Regions from separate parts of the Homo sapiens genome. Here regions 1, 2 and 4 are each linked to region 3. The links are contacts of gene promoters, found by promoter capture Hi-C in blood cells and fetal thymus (Javierre and others, 2016). All regions are on one chromosome and are shown on one strand. Each heading gives the region's core, a stretch centred on a gene start or on the middle of the fragment in contact. The rest is flanking DNA. Distances are from core to core; before and after follow the strand shown.

The links. The method cuts DNA at HindIII sites, captures the fragments that hold promoters and counts their contacts. A CHiCAGO score of 5 or more calls a contact.
Region 1: a fragment that was not itself captured here is called in contact with the fragment with the promoter of EDDM3B in region 3 in 6 of 17 cell types (M2 macrophages, M0 macrophages, M1 macrophages and 3 more); the score reaches 10.4 in M2 macrophages.
Region 2: a fragment that was not itself captured here is called in contact with the fragment with the promoter of EDDM3B in region 3 in 10 of 17 cell types (M1 macrophages, total B cells, M2 macrophages and 7 more); the score reaches 11.0 in M1 macrophages.
Region 4: the fragment with the promoter of RNASE3 here is called in contact with the fragment with the promoter of EDDM3B in region 3 in 2 of 17 cell types (naive B cells and total B cells); the score reaches 5.8 in naive B cells.

Annotation. Positions count from the first base shown.
Region 1 is chr14:20,851,491-20,854,190 of GRCh38, forward strand. No RefSeq gene overlaps it. Among named protein-coding and RNA genes, the nearest start is that of RNASE3, 39 kb to the right of the region's middle. The HindIII fragment of the contact is 3,390 bases long and covers 1-2,700 here.
Region 2 is chr14:20,868,267-20,870,966 of GRCh38, forward strand. It overlaps LOC100507513 (a long non-coding RNA gene), which reads right to left. Exons shown (of 4, transcript XR_110261.4): 4 at 1,969-2,190. Among named protein-coding and RNA genes, the nearest start is that of RNASE3, 22 kb to the right of the region's middle. The HindIII fragment of the contact is 5,154 bases long and covers 1-2,700 here.
Region 3 is chr14:20,766,958-20,769,693 of GRCh38, forward strand. EDDM3B (epididymal protein 3B) reads left to right here and starts at 1,447. Exons shown (of 2, transcript NM_022360.5): 1 at 1,447-1,549. The region is part of intron 1 of LOC107984671 (a long non-coding RNA gene); the gene reads right to left. RefSeq lists an enhancer at 1,155-1,434. The HindIII fragment of the contact is 10,803 bases long and covers 1-2,736 here.
Region 4 is chr14:20,889,901-20,892,637 of GRCh38, forward strand. RNASE3 (ribonuclease A family member 3) reads left to right here and starts at 1,485. Exons shown (of 2, transcript NM_002935.3): 1 at 1,485-1,551; 2 at 1,782-2,448. The coding sequence starts at 1,787. The coding sequence ends at 2,269. The region is part of intron 1 of LOC100507513 (a long non-coding RNA gene); the gene reads right to left. The HindIII fragment of the contact is 4,045 bases long and covers 1,451-2,737 here.

The DNA.
Region 1 (2,700 bases), core at 145-2,644, 84 kb after region 3:
CTGACAGCATCTTCCCTGGGTGATCACAACTGACATCATCATTGCAGGACACATGGATGTTTCATGCCTCCAGGCTTATTGCCCTGAGGACACAACATCACCTATGCAGTATTCTGAAACAGAATGCATAACCTGAATTTAATCATAAGGAAGCATCAGACAAACCCAAAATGAAGAATGTTAAAAAAGGAGGTGTCTTATAAAACTAAACACACTCAGGCCAGGCACGGTGGCTCACACCTGTAATCCCAGTACTTTGGGAGCCTGAGGCAGGTGGATCACCTGAGGTCGGGAGTTTAAGACCAGCCCGATCAACATGGTGTAACCCCGTCTCTACTAAATACAAAAAATTAGCTGGGTGTGGTGGCACATGCCTGTAATCCCAGCTACTTGGGAGGCTGAGGCAGGAGAATCTCTTGAATCCAGGAGGTAGAGGTTGCAGTGAGCCGAGATTGTGCCATTACACCCCAGCCTGGGCAACAAGAGCAAAACTCCATCTCAAAAAAAATAAAAAAAAAATAACTAAACACACTCTTAACACATAATCCAGCTGTCACTCTCCTTGGTATTTGCACAAATGAGTTAAAAACTTATGTCCACACAAACACCTGCACATGGATGTTCATAACAGCTTTATGCATAACTGTCAAAGTTTAGAAGCAACCAAGGCGTCCCTCAGGAGCTGAATAGATAAATTACTGTGGTACATCCAAATAATGGAATATTATTCAGCACTAAAATGAAATGAGCTCTCAAGTCATGACAAGACATAGCGGGACCTTAAATGAATATTATTAAGTAAAAGAAGCTATTCTGAAAAGGCTACTACTGTATGTAGCTGCTACTACATACTTTATGTACTGTATGATTCCAACTATATGACATTCTGGAAAAGGCAAAACTATGAAAATGGTAAATAGATCAGTAGTTGCCAGGGGTTAAGGAGGAAGGGAGAGACAAATAGGCAAACACAGAAAATTTTTGAGCAGTGAAACTATTCTGCATGATATTATAATGGTGGATGCATGTCATTATACATTTGCCAAAACCCACAGAATGTACATGACCAAGAGTGAACCCTAATATAAACTACAGACTTTGGGTGATAATACTGTATCAATGCAGGCTTCTCGGTTGTAACAACTGTATCACTCTGGTGGGGGGATGTCGATAATGGGGGAGGCTGTGCTTGTTGGGGGGCTGTGAACCTGAAACTACTCTAAAAGATAAAATCTCTCAAAAAGGTGGGATAAAAAGGTCTTCTCTTTTGTGATTTCTTTAAAAATGTTGAAGACCAAAAAGACACGGAAAGGCTGTGGAAATGATTCAGGTTAAAGGTAGCTAAAGAGTTTTGGCAGTTAACTGCATCCTGACGCTAGCCTGGAGCCTGCACTGGGGGGAGAAAGTATACTTCAAAAAAGATTGTGGGTCAACTAACAAATTTGAACACAAACAGTACATTTGATAAAATTATTACATCAATGTTAAATGTAATACTCTAGCCAAATTTGTCTATTTACTATCGTCTGAATTTTCCTTTTGAATCACATTTGCCATTCCTACTGCCTGGGGTGCCTCTTCCCACCTATGCAAGTCCTACCCACCTCCAAATTTCACCTAACCACTCATGACCACCCAGAAGACTTGCCCAAACATTTCAGCCCTGGGTGAGCTAGTCCTTCTCTGAACTCACAGAATCTGTTTCTACACTGCTGACTTTGTGCTTTTACAGCCTGCACTCTCAGTTGTCTCTCTCTATAAACATATCATATCTCTCCACCTAAACCGAAAGCAAACTGGTAAAGGGAATGTTGCTTTATGCTTCTTTTTACCTTGTAGACCTTCCTACGATAGATGTTCACTGTAATTCATTTATTTGACAATTATTTATTAAGCACCTGCAACGCACTGTCAGTATACAAAGATAAATAAGACGTGGTCCCTGTCCTCAAGGGACTTACAGTTCTATGTGGGGAACCAAACTATAAATAACAAGTTTTAAATGTGCAAGGAACATAAAAGAAAGAATAGGAATTTTTCCAAGGTAGGCTCTGGAGTAGTTGATACTTAAATTCAGGCTTGAAATATGAGTAGGCATTCACCAGGTGACAGAGAACTGTTGGCAAGGTCCTAATATGGTACACGACTGAGAGAATGTAGGTGTCAGAAGAAAGACTTCTGCAGGTCTGTCCTTGTTTGTACCTGTGGGCTTTTTGCATGAGAGCCACACACCTCGCCCTATCCCATATTTGTGACTGGAATGTACATTAAAGGGAGGTAGTGATGGGTGACCTCAGGAGATTAAAGCCATTGCTGTAGACAAGAGGAGTTAGAGTGGGGTAGGGGCAGTTCCAGGGTTCTCCAAGGGTGGAGAACGGAGAAGGAAGCCTTGCTACTAATTAGGGACATGTGCACAGTCTGTGAGATTGAGAGGGTTCAGTTAACCCATCTGGAGAACAAGCTCTCACACAGTTAGGCAGCCTTCACACGGTGCGCAATGCACCCCAAGAGGACAGACTGTGTGCTCTTGATGTGAACAGACTGCTCAGGTCATGATCGAGGACAGAAAGACTCAATTCAGACTCTTCCCATTGTTCCAAAATCTCTCTCTCGGAAGAAGCATAGAGACCTTTATCAGAAGAAGAAAAGTAATCAGCTTTCATGCTTTATCTGAGTGAAAGAGAACTAAAATAATTTTTC
Region 2 (2,700 bases), core at 177-2,676, 100 kb after region 3:
GTCACTCTAAGAGAATCTTCTCAGCCTCGTACTCCTTTCTTGGACAACCACTACTTTAAAAGCAGGATCATGTTCAATGGCATTCTGGCAATACAGATGTCCATTAAGTAGAAATGCACAATGTCTACTTGTTGAATATCTAATTGTTCTCCAAATTTATTAACAGGATCTTCTATCTTGATAGGAAAAAAAAATTCATATTTTGAAATCTATCTATCTATCTATATAGATAGATAGATATATTTTCTTTCTGAGAATATATATATTTTTTCTTTTTGAGATGGAGTTTTACTCTTGTTGCCCAGGCTGGAGTGCAATGGCACAGTCTCAGGTCACTGCAACATCCACCTCCTGGGTTCAAGCGATTCTCCTGCCTCAGCCTCCCGAGTAGCTGGGATTACAGGCACCTGCCACCATGCCTGGCTTATTTTTGTATTTTTAGTACAGACGGGGTTTCACCATGTTGGCCAGGCTGGTCTCAAACCCTTGACCTCAAATGATCCACCCGCCTCGGCCTCCCAAAGTGCTGGGATTAGAGGCGTGAGCCACTGCACCTGGCTATATATATATTTTTAGAACTCCTTCTTTCCACAGTGTAGAAAGTACACATTACAAAGCTCAGTCAAATGCCAGGAACTTAAACATCCACACATTAGCATAAATTGTTAATTAATTTCTCAAAAAAAGAAAAAAATGCATCTCACTTGAATTCCAGGGAATCAACCTAAAGTATACTGAGATTCCTAAACTGAACCTTAAAACACAAGACACAGAATCAAAAGTCAAAGAACAAAAGGAACATTCTTCAGCAGGAGATAGGGAGCTGGTTTTAGAAACAGGTGGAGATCACCGAGTCTCAGCATAAGCAAAAGCAACACAGAAACCTAGGCTTTTGAAAAATGTCTAAAATACAGCAAAAGAGAAGGCATTCGAATGTTTTTGTGTAGTAATAGCAGGCTACTAATACAGGAATACAGACTATATTAATCCATGACATTTCAGTGAAACAATAAAAACAACTCTTTGGACATCCAGAAACAAAGGATGTTTTATCTAGTTAACTTTTTTTTTTTTTGAGACAGGGTCTGGCTCTGTCTCCCAGGCTGGAGTGCAGCAGCCCAACCTCGGCTCACTGTGACCTCCACCTCCTAGGCTCAAGCGATCCTCCCACCTCACCCTCCTGAGTAGTCGGGACTACAGGCGTGTGCCACTACGCCCGGCTAATTTTTGTATTTTTTGTAGAGATGGGGTTTCACCATGTTGCCCAGACTGGTCCCAAATTCCTGGACTTAAGTGATCCACTCACCTCACCCTCTCAAAGTGCTGGGATTACAGGCATGAACCACTGCCCCTGGCCCCCTTTTTATTCATATGTGAAGACAATAGAAAGACATTCTTCCATCACTAATATTTACTTAATTAACATTTCTGAGTGCCTTTGATATGACAAGCACTATGCTAAGTGCCATATAGGGAGAGGTGAACAAAACAGACAGGTGCTTGTATCCTAGAAAACTTTGCCTCTGCACACCTTGCTTGTGATAATAATTATAGGGCATATGCCAAACACTGAGCTATAAATCTATGAAGGAAGGATGTTGCTTACTTATCACAAGTGATAACCAGTGATACCAGTATCTATGAGCCATAGAAAAAAAGATTGCCTATTTCCCTGACTAGCTCAGAGGGATACAGCTTAATTCAGAAGATAAAACCTTTTCTTTTTTTTTTCTTTGAGATGGAGTCTTGCTCTGTCGCCAGGCTGGAGTGCAGTGGCGCAGTCTCGGCTCACTGCAACCTCCACTTCCCGGGTTCAAGCAATTCTCCTGTCTCAGCCTCCCGAGTAGCTGGGACAACAGGTGCACGCCACCACGCCCAGCTAATTTTTATATTTTTAGTAGAGACAGGATTTCACCATGTTGGCCAGGTTGGTCTTGATCTCTTGACCTCGTGATCCGCCTGCCTCAGCCTCCCAAAGTGTTGGGATTACAGGCGTGAGCCACTGCACCAAGCCAAGAAAACTCTTTCTTTATGGCAGCATTAGGCACCCCCAATAAGAGCCCACTCACATCATCATGATAGACAGAAACACTGCAGGGGGAAAAATGATCTTGCCTTTGGGCACCAGGACATTGGGACCTCCCAAGTAGTCTGCATCAGTGGATCATAAGGACCAACCATTTATCAAATCTGGGAAAGACAAAAGGCAAGCATAAGATTAAAAAGTAATGCAGGTCTTCGCCAGATGGCTCTGCTGCTTAATAAGTAAAATCACAATCACAGAAGGTGATAACCAAGGATAATTAGGTAAACGACCACACTCCATTTAATCACAGTTCAGAAGATCTTCCCTAATTTCTGCTGAAGTCTCTTCAATAATTTCACCTACCTCTGGAAGAAACTAGAGGACTAATGGGAAGAGTCCATTGGTGTTTATGTGGGAAAAGGAAGGTGCAAGCCATTTCAGCTCAAGGAAAGAAAGGAAGGGAGGGAGGGAGGAAGAAAGAGAAAGAGAAATGAGGAAAGGAAGGAACGGAAAAGAGAGAAAAGAAGAAAGGAGGGTAGAAGAAAGAAAGGAGGGAGGGAGGAAAGAAGAGAAACTGACTTTCCAAAGACACAGCTGAAGCAGCAGCTAAGAGGTAACATTATGAAAGTATGGGGTATCATTCTTCAGGATGCAGTGTATTTATTAAATCAGAG
Region 3 (2,736 bases), core at 197-2,696:
CAGATGAGTTTTATTTAACCCTGTATATCATGTTTTACTTTCCAACCTGACTCTGGCATAACATTACCAGACAAACAAGAAAAAGTATTTTGCCCCAAAACATGTTTCTTTGCCACATTTTGAAATTGCCCTGCAAAGCTGTTCTTTGTGGGGGAAAATTTGCATCTGTAAAGAATCTCTATTAACATAGCTAAATATTTTTCTTCCAGACCTTCCAATCCTAAAGATATTAATTAAGATCTGAAAGGGAAACATTTGTCATCTATTGTCTCTAAGGGCAGCCACTATAAGACTTCGAAAGAATTGGTCTCTACCATCTTTATTTTAACCTGAATATTCCCTTTCTATCAATCTCAGGTCTTTAGACAAAACTAGTTGTCAACCAGAAAATGTTTAAATACACCTATGGCCTGGAGGCCCTCCACTCCCCATCAGCTTTGAGTTGTCCCGCCTTGCTGGACCAAACCAATGTATTTCTTAAATGTATTTGATTGATGTTTCATGCCTCTCTAAAATGTATAAAACCAGCTGTGCTCCAACCACCTTGGGCACATGTCCTCAGGACCTCCTGAGAGCTGTGTCATAGGCCATGGTCACTCATATTTGGCTCAGAATAAATCTCTTCAAATATTTTACAGAGTTTGACTCTTTTTTTTTTCTTTTCTTTTGTTTTGAAATGGTGTTTTGCTCCTGTTGCCCAGGCTGGAGTGCAATGGCGTGATCTCGGCTCACTGCAACCTCTGCCTCCCAGGTTCAAGCGATTCACCTGCCTCGGCCTCCCAAGTAGCTGGGATTACAGGTGCCCACCACCACGCCCAGCTAATTTTTGTATTTTTAGTAGAGATGGGGTTTCACCACCTCGGCCAGGTAGGTCTTGAACTCCTGACCTCAGGTGATCCTCCCGCCTTGGCCTCCCAAAGTGCTGGGATTACAGGCGTGAGCCACCACACCCAGCTGACTCGTTTCATCGACAATAACAAACTGCCTAGTAAAACTTCAGATACTGGCTACCTAATCATAACTATCTGGCCACCAGTTTCACTAGATACTCTTTCACCTCTCAACGAAAGTCCCACAGTTCACAATGTTATAAGTGGCTTTCTTCAGAGAAGTTTCTGTGTAACATAGCATAACCCTCCAGGGACTTCCCAGAACTTTGTCAGAAATTGAGTGCAGAAGCCAGGTCTCTCGTTGTCTACTGATAGCACCAGATAACCCCTTTCTGGGGTCACCTCACTCTAGGGTCTTGCACTTCTTCTGTGCCCTGGAGTCAGCCTTTGATGTTTGTAGCCTTTGCTTGAGGCCACTGTCTGAATAAACTCAAGTGTTCCAGATGAGAAGATACAGGAACAAGTTCACATAATAAGGCTATTCCCCATCACCACCTCCACTACCAATCAGCTGGAGCCTTGCAGCTCCCCCTGCTATTCCTTTCTCCACTGCTGCAGATTTCCAGGGCCCTGAGGAAAGGAGGACTCAGACTCTGCTCTTCAGATCCACACACTGATCCCAACTACAACCAGTGACCTGAACTTGGAGTCTGAGTAGGGTAAGAAGGGCTCTGCTGAGGATGTTTGGGGGACAGCCAGGAGCACTGAAAGGAGGCTGATTGAACTTTTAGATAGCAAACAATGGAGAAGGATCCAAATCATGGAAAACAAAGGTGTGAATTCTGGTCAGCCTCAGTCCCACTGATACAGGCTTTCCCTGCCCCTCCCTTCCTTCACCCCCAGTCTTCTCAAACACAATGCATTAAAACCGCTTACATCCTGCTCTTCTATCCTCTGTAGGTCTTTATCATCAGGACAGGGTTCCACAGATAGGAAGTACCGACCCTTTGTTCTGTGTCTGATGTGGACATTTGACATCATTAGAAGTGCTCTCAAATACATGCGTCTCATTAGACACTTGCAGGTCTGTAGGGAGCTATTATTAAGTCCATCTGAGGACACCAATGCTCAGAGTTGTGAATCAGGTTAGAGATTCAGTAAGGGCGGGAACACTTCTCATGGTAAATGAGGACAGAGCACTAGTTTAAACGGTAGACTCTTTCAAAAAGATCCCCACACTCCATGCTATCACCACAGAAGCCACTGTGGGGGCTCTTTTAGTCTTGGTGCTTGATTGATTACAGGAATATTTCAAATCTGGAATTCTGGTTGGGTGTAGTGGCTCATGCCTGAGAATCCCAGCACTTTGGGAAACCGAGGTGGGTAGATTACTTGAGGCCAGGATTTTGATACTAGCCTGGCCAACATGGCGAAACATTGTCTCTACTAAAAAAAATACAAAAATTAGCTGTGTGTGGTGGCAGGCACCTATAATCTCAGCTACGTGGGAGGCTGAGACAGAGAATCTATTGAACCCTGGAGGTGAAGGTTGCAGTGAGCCAAGACTGTGCCACTGCACTCCAGCCTGGGTGACACAGTGAGACTCTGTCTCAAAAATAAATAAACAAATAAAAACCTCAAAACTGGAGTTATTTTATGATGACATTTTCAAGGAGCAGCTCTGACAAACCAAGATCATTTGTAATAGTGATAATTAGGGGAATGACCCCTGAGAAGGAATATGGGTAGTTAGTAATGAACATACGTTCCACTCAGGCTTTGGAGAAAGTGTTATAAGGAAGTCAAGATTGGAGAAGCATCATTAAGTAATTGGAGAAGCAGGCAAGAAGTAATTGCAGGCTAGGCTGTCATTTTAGCGAATCGAAGCCTTCCTACCTAGGAACCA
Region 4 (2,737 bases), core at 235-2,734, 120 kb after region 3:
AAAATAAACTTGCCTCATGATAAAGCTGCTAATGAATGTCGGCCAGAACAGGACTTCAAGGCAGAGCAATATTAGCTGCGCATTGAGTCCTCACCAGGTCACCATTGTGTCCACATTTACCTAAGGACCCCAGTGATAAAATTATTGCATTTCTAAATGACAGGAAAATTGGACGGTAGTAAAAATTAGGCAGATTAACTGTTGGAAGGTATATTATATCATTTAAGGGTCTACTTTCCATTTTCTAATCTCAAAGCTAGACCAGATTTAACATCTGTTAGTACCCAGGCCTTACCTTTGCAATTCACTTCTCACCTCTGTACAATTTCCCCACATCATCCCCTGTGCCCAGAATGCTCATCTCTTCTCTAAATCCCCTGAAAATCCCCTGCTTATCCTTTAGGACCTGCTGAAATAAACTTTTTTTTGAAGTTTTCCTTATTTCTCAAGCCAAGTGATTTCCTTCACCAGCAGTGTCCCTATGACACCATGTTCACACAAATGCTATTACCTCTATCACACTGTAATACAATTATATGTCTACAAGTACTTTCCTGTGTTTCTCTGAGGGCCAAGAATAAATGTATGCTTTGTGTATCAAACTGTACACTTGACCTCTATACTTTCAGGAATACAGTGCTCTGTCCTTAAATGTTCATTTGTAAATACAGAACCATATTCTTGTTAATATCACAAAATGAAACTTACCAGGAAGATGAATGACAACCCCAGAACACACTGTTTTGTAGAAAATACCATAGGCTGAAAAGATCACAGGAATACCGAGTGCTAGGTTGGAATCTTTCATGACACCAAATGTTCATTCATCCTCTGCCAGATTTTACAACTGTCCTCGGTGTGTTTTTAGGTTATGTAACTTTACACAAAGTGGAATCAATAATCAGGGCAAGACTTAAGAGAAAGTGGATCCAATGCAAGAGGAGTAAAGAAAAAAATTCCTCAATTGTATGGAGCAGATTGTTTTAATTATCTACAGAATCTTGTGCCCCAAGAAATTAATAGCTCAAGTTTCCAGCAAGAGTGGTGGATGAGATGGAGAGCATTTATGTGAGAGAGAACCAAGGATATTACTAAAAATGGAAGGGAAGCTGGGTTTCTCCTGGGCAAACAGCCCTCTGTGGCTCTATTTCTCCTAACTACTATGCCTGCCTTCGTGTCATTTAGTCATTTAGGGGCCTGCCAGAGGACAGTTATAAAATCTGTGGTCATTCTGCCGGCAGCGTATAGTTTTCACCCAGAGTCCAGATCCCACCGGCAAAACTCTGTCTAACACAGGATGACTTGGAATTAGAGTCCGTATAGCAGAAAGAGCAGCAGGGCTGTCCTTGGGTATCCGTTGCTCAGCCAAGTCATCAAATAAAAAGGATGATTGCACAAGTGGACCATGTGTCAATCTGTGGGTTTCTGCATGGCCAGACCCACCAAGGGAAGCTTTATTTAAACAGTTCCAAGTAGGGGAGACCAGCTGCCCCTGAACCCCAGAACAACCAGCTGGATCAGTTCTCACAGGAGCCACAGCTCAGAGACTGGGTAAGTCAACAATCCCCAGAGCTGGGACAGGAGGGGCAGCGACAGGGCAGCACCTGAGGGAGAGGTGAGCTGAAGTTAGTGCTTAGGAGATGTGGCACACTTTGGGGACAGGAAGAAAAGGAAATGCGACCCCAGAGTGGCAGCAGAGGGGCCTGTGGGTTGAGACACTATAGAGTGTGTCATAACCGAGACCGGATCGGGGAGTAGTTACTTCTCTTCTTTTCTTACAGGAAACATGGTTCCAAAACTGTTCACTTCCCAAATTTGTCTGCTTCTTCTGTTGGGGCTTATGGGTGTGGAGGGCTCACTCCATGCCAGACCCCCACAGTTTACGAGGGCTCAGTGGTTTGCCATCCAGCACATCAGTCTGAACCCCCCTCGATGCACCATTGCAATGCGGGCAATTAACAATTATCGATGGCGTTGCAAAAACCAAAATACTTTTCTTCGTACAACTTTTGCTAATGTAGTTAATGTTTGTGGTAACCAAAGTATACGCTGCCCTCATAACAGAACTCTCAACAATTGTCATCGGAGTAGATTCCGGGTGCCTTTACTCCACTGTGACCTCATAAATCCAGGTGCACAGAATATTTCAAACTGCACGTATGCAGACAGACCAGGAAGGAGGTTCTATGTAGTTGCATGTGACAACAGAGATCCACGGGATTCTCCACGGTATCCTGTGGTTCCAGTTCACCTGGATACCACCATCTAAGCTCCTGTATCAGCAGTCCTCATCATCACTCATCTGCCAAGCTCCTCAATCATAGCCAAGATCCCATCCCTCCATGTACTCTGGGTATCAGCAACTGTCCTCATCAGTCTCCATACCCCTTCAGCTTTCCTGAGCTGAAGTCCCTTGTGAACCCTGCAATAAACTGCTTTGCAAATTCATCTGGAAGTGTCTGTGTGTCTTCCTCGGCCGCTCTGCTGTCATTTAGTGACAATCTGCTCTAGAGATTTGGGTTTATCATGAATCTCTCCCCCTCAATATCTGACCAAATTCCTTAATTCCCCCATCATCCTTCATGTGATACCTGATTCCAGGCCTGCCTTAAAAAAAAATCCAATTGAGTCAACTTAGCATTGGTCTCCCTAGCCTTAATATCTCCTCTAAGCAATTTTCCATCCACTGACTCCTCCCCCAACACCAACCTATAACTTGTGTATAGATCTCCACTTG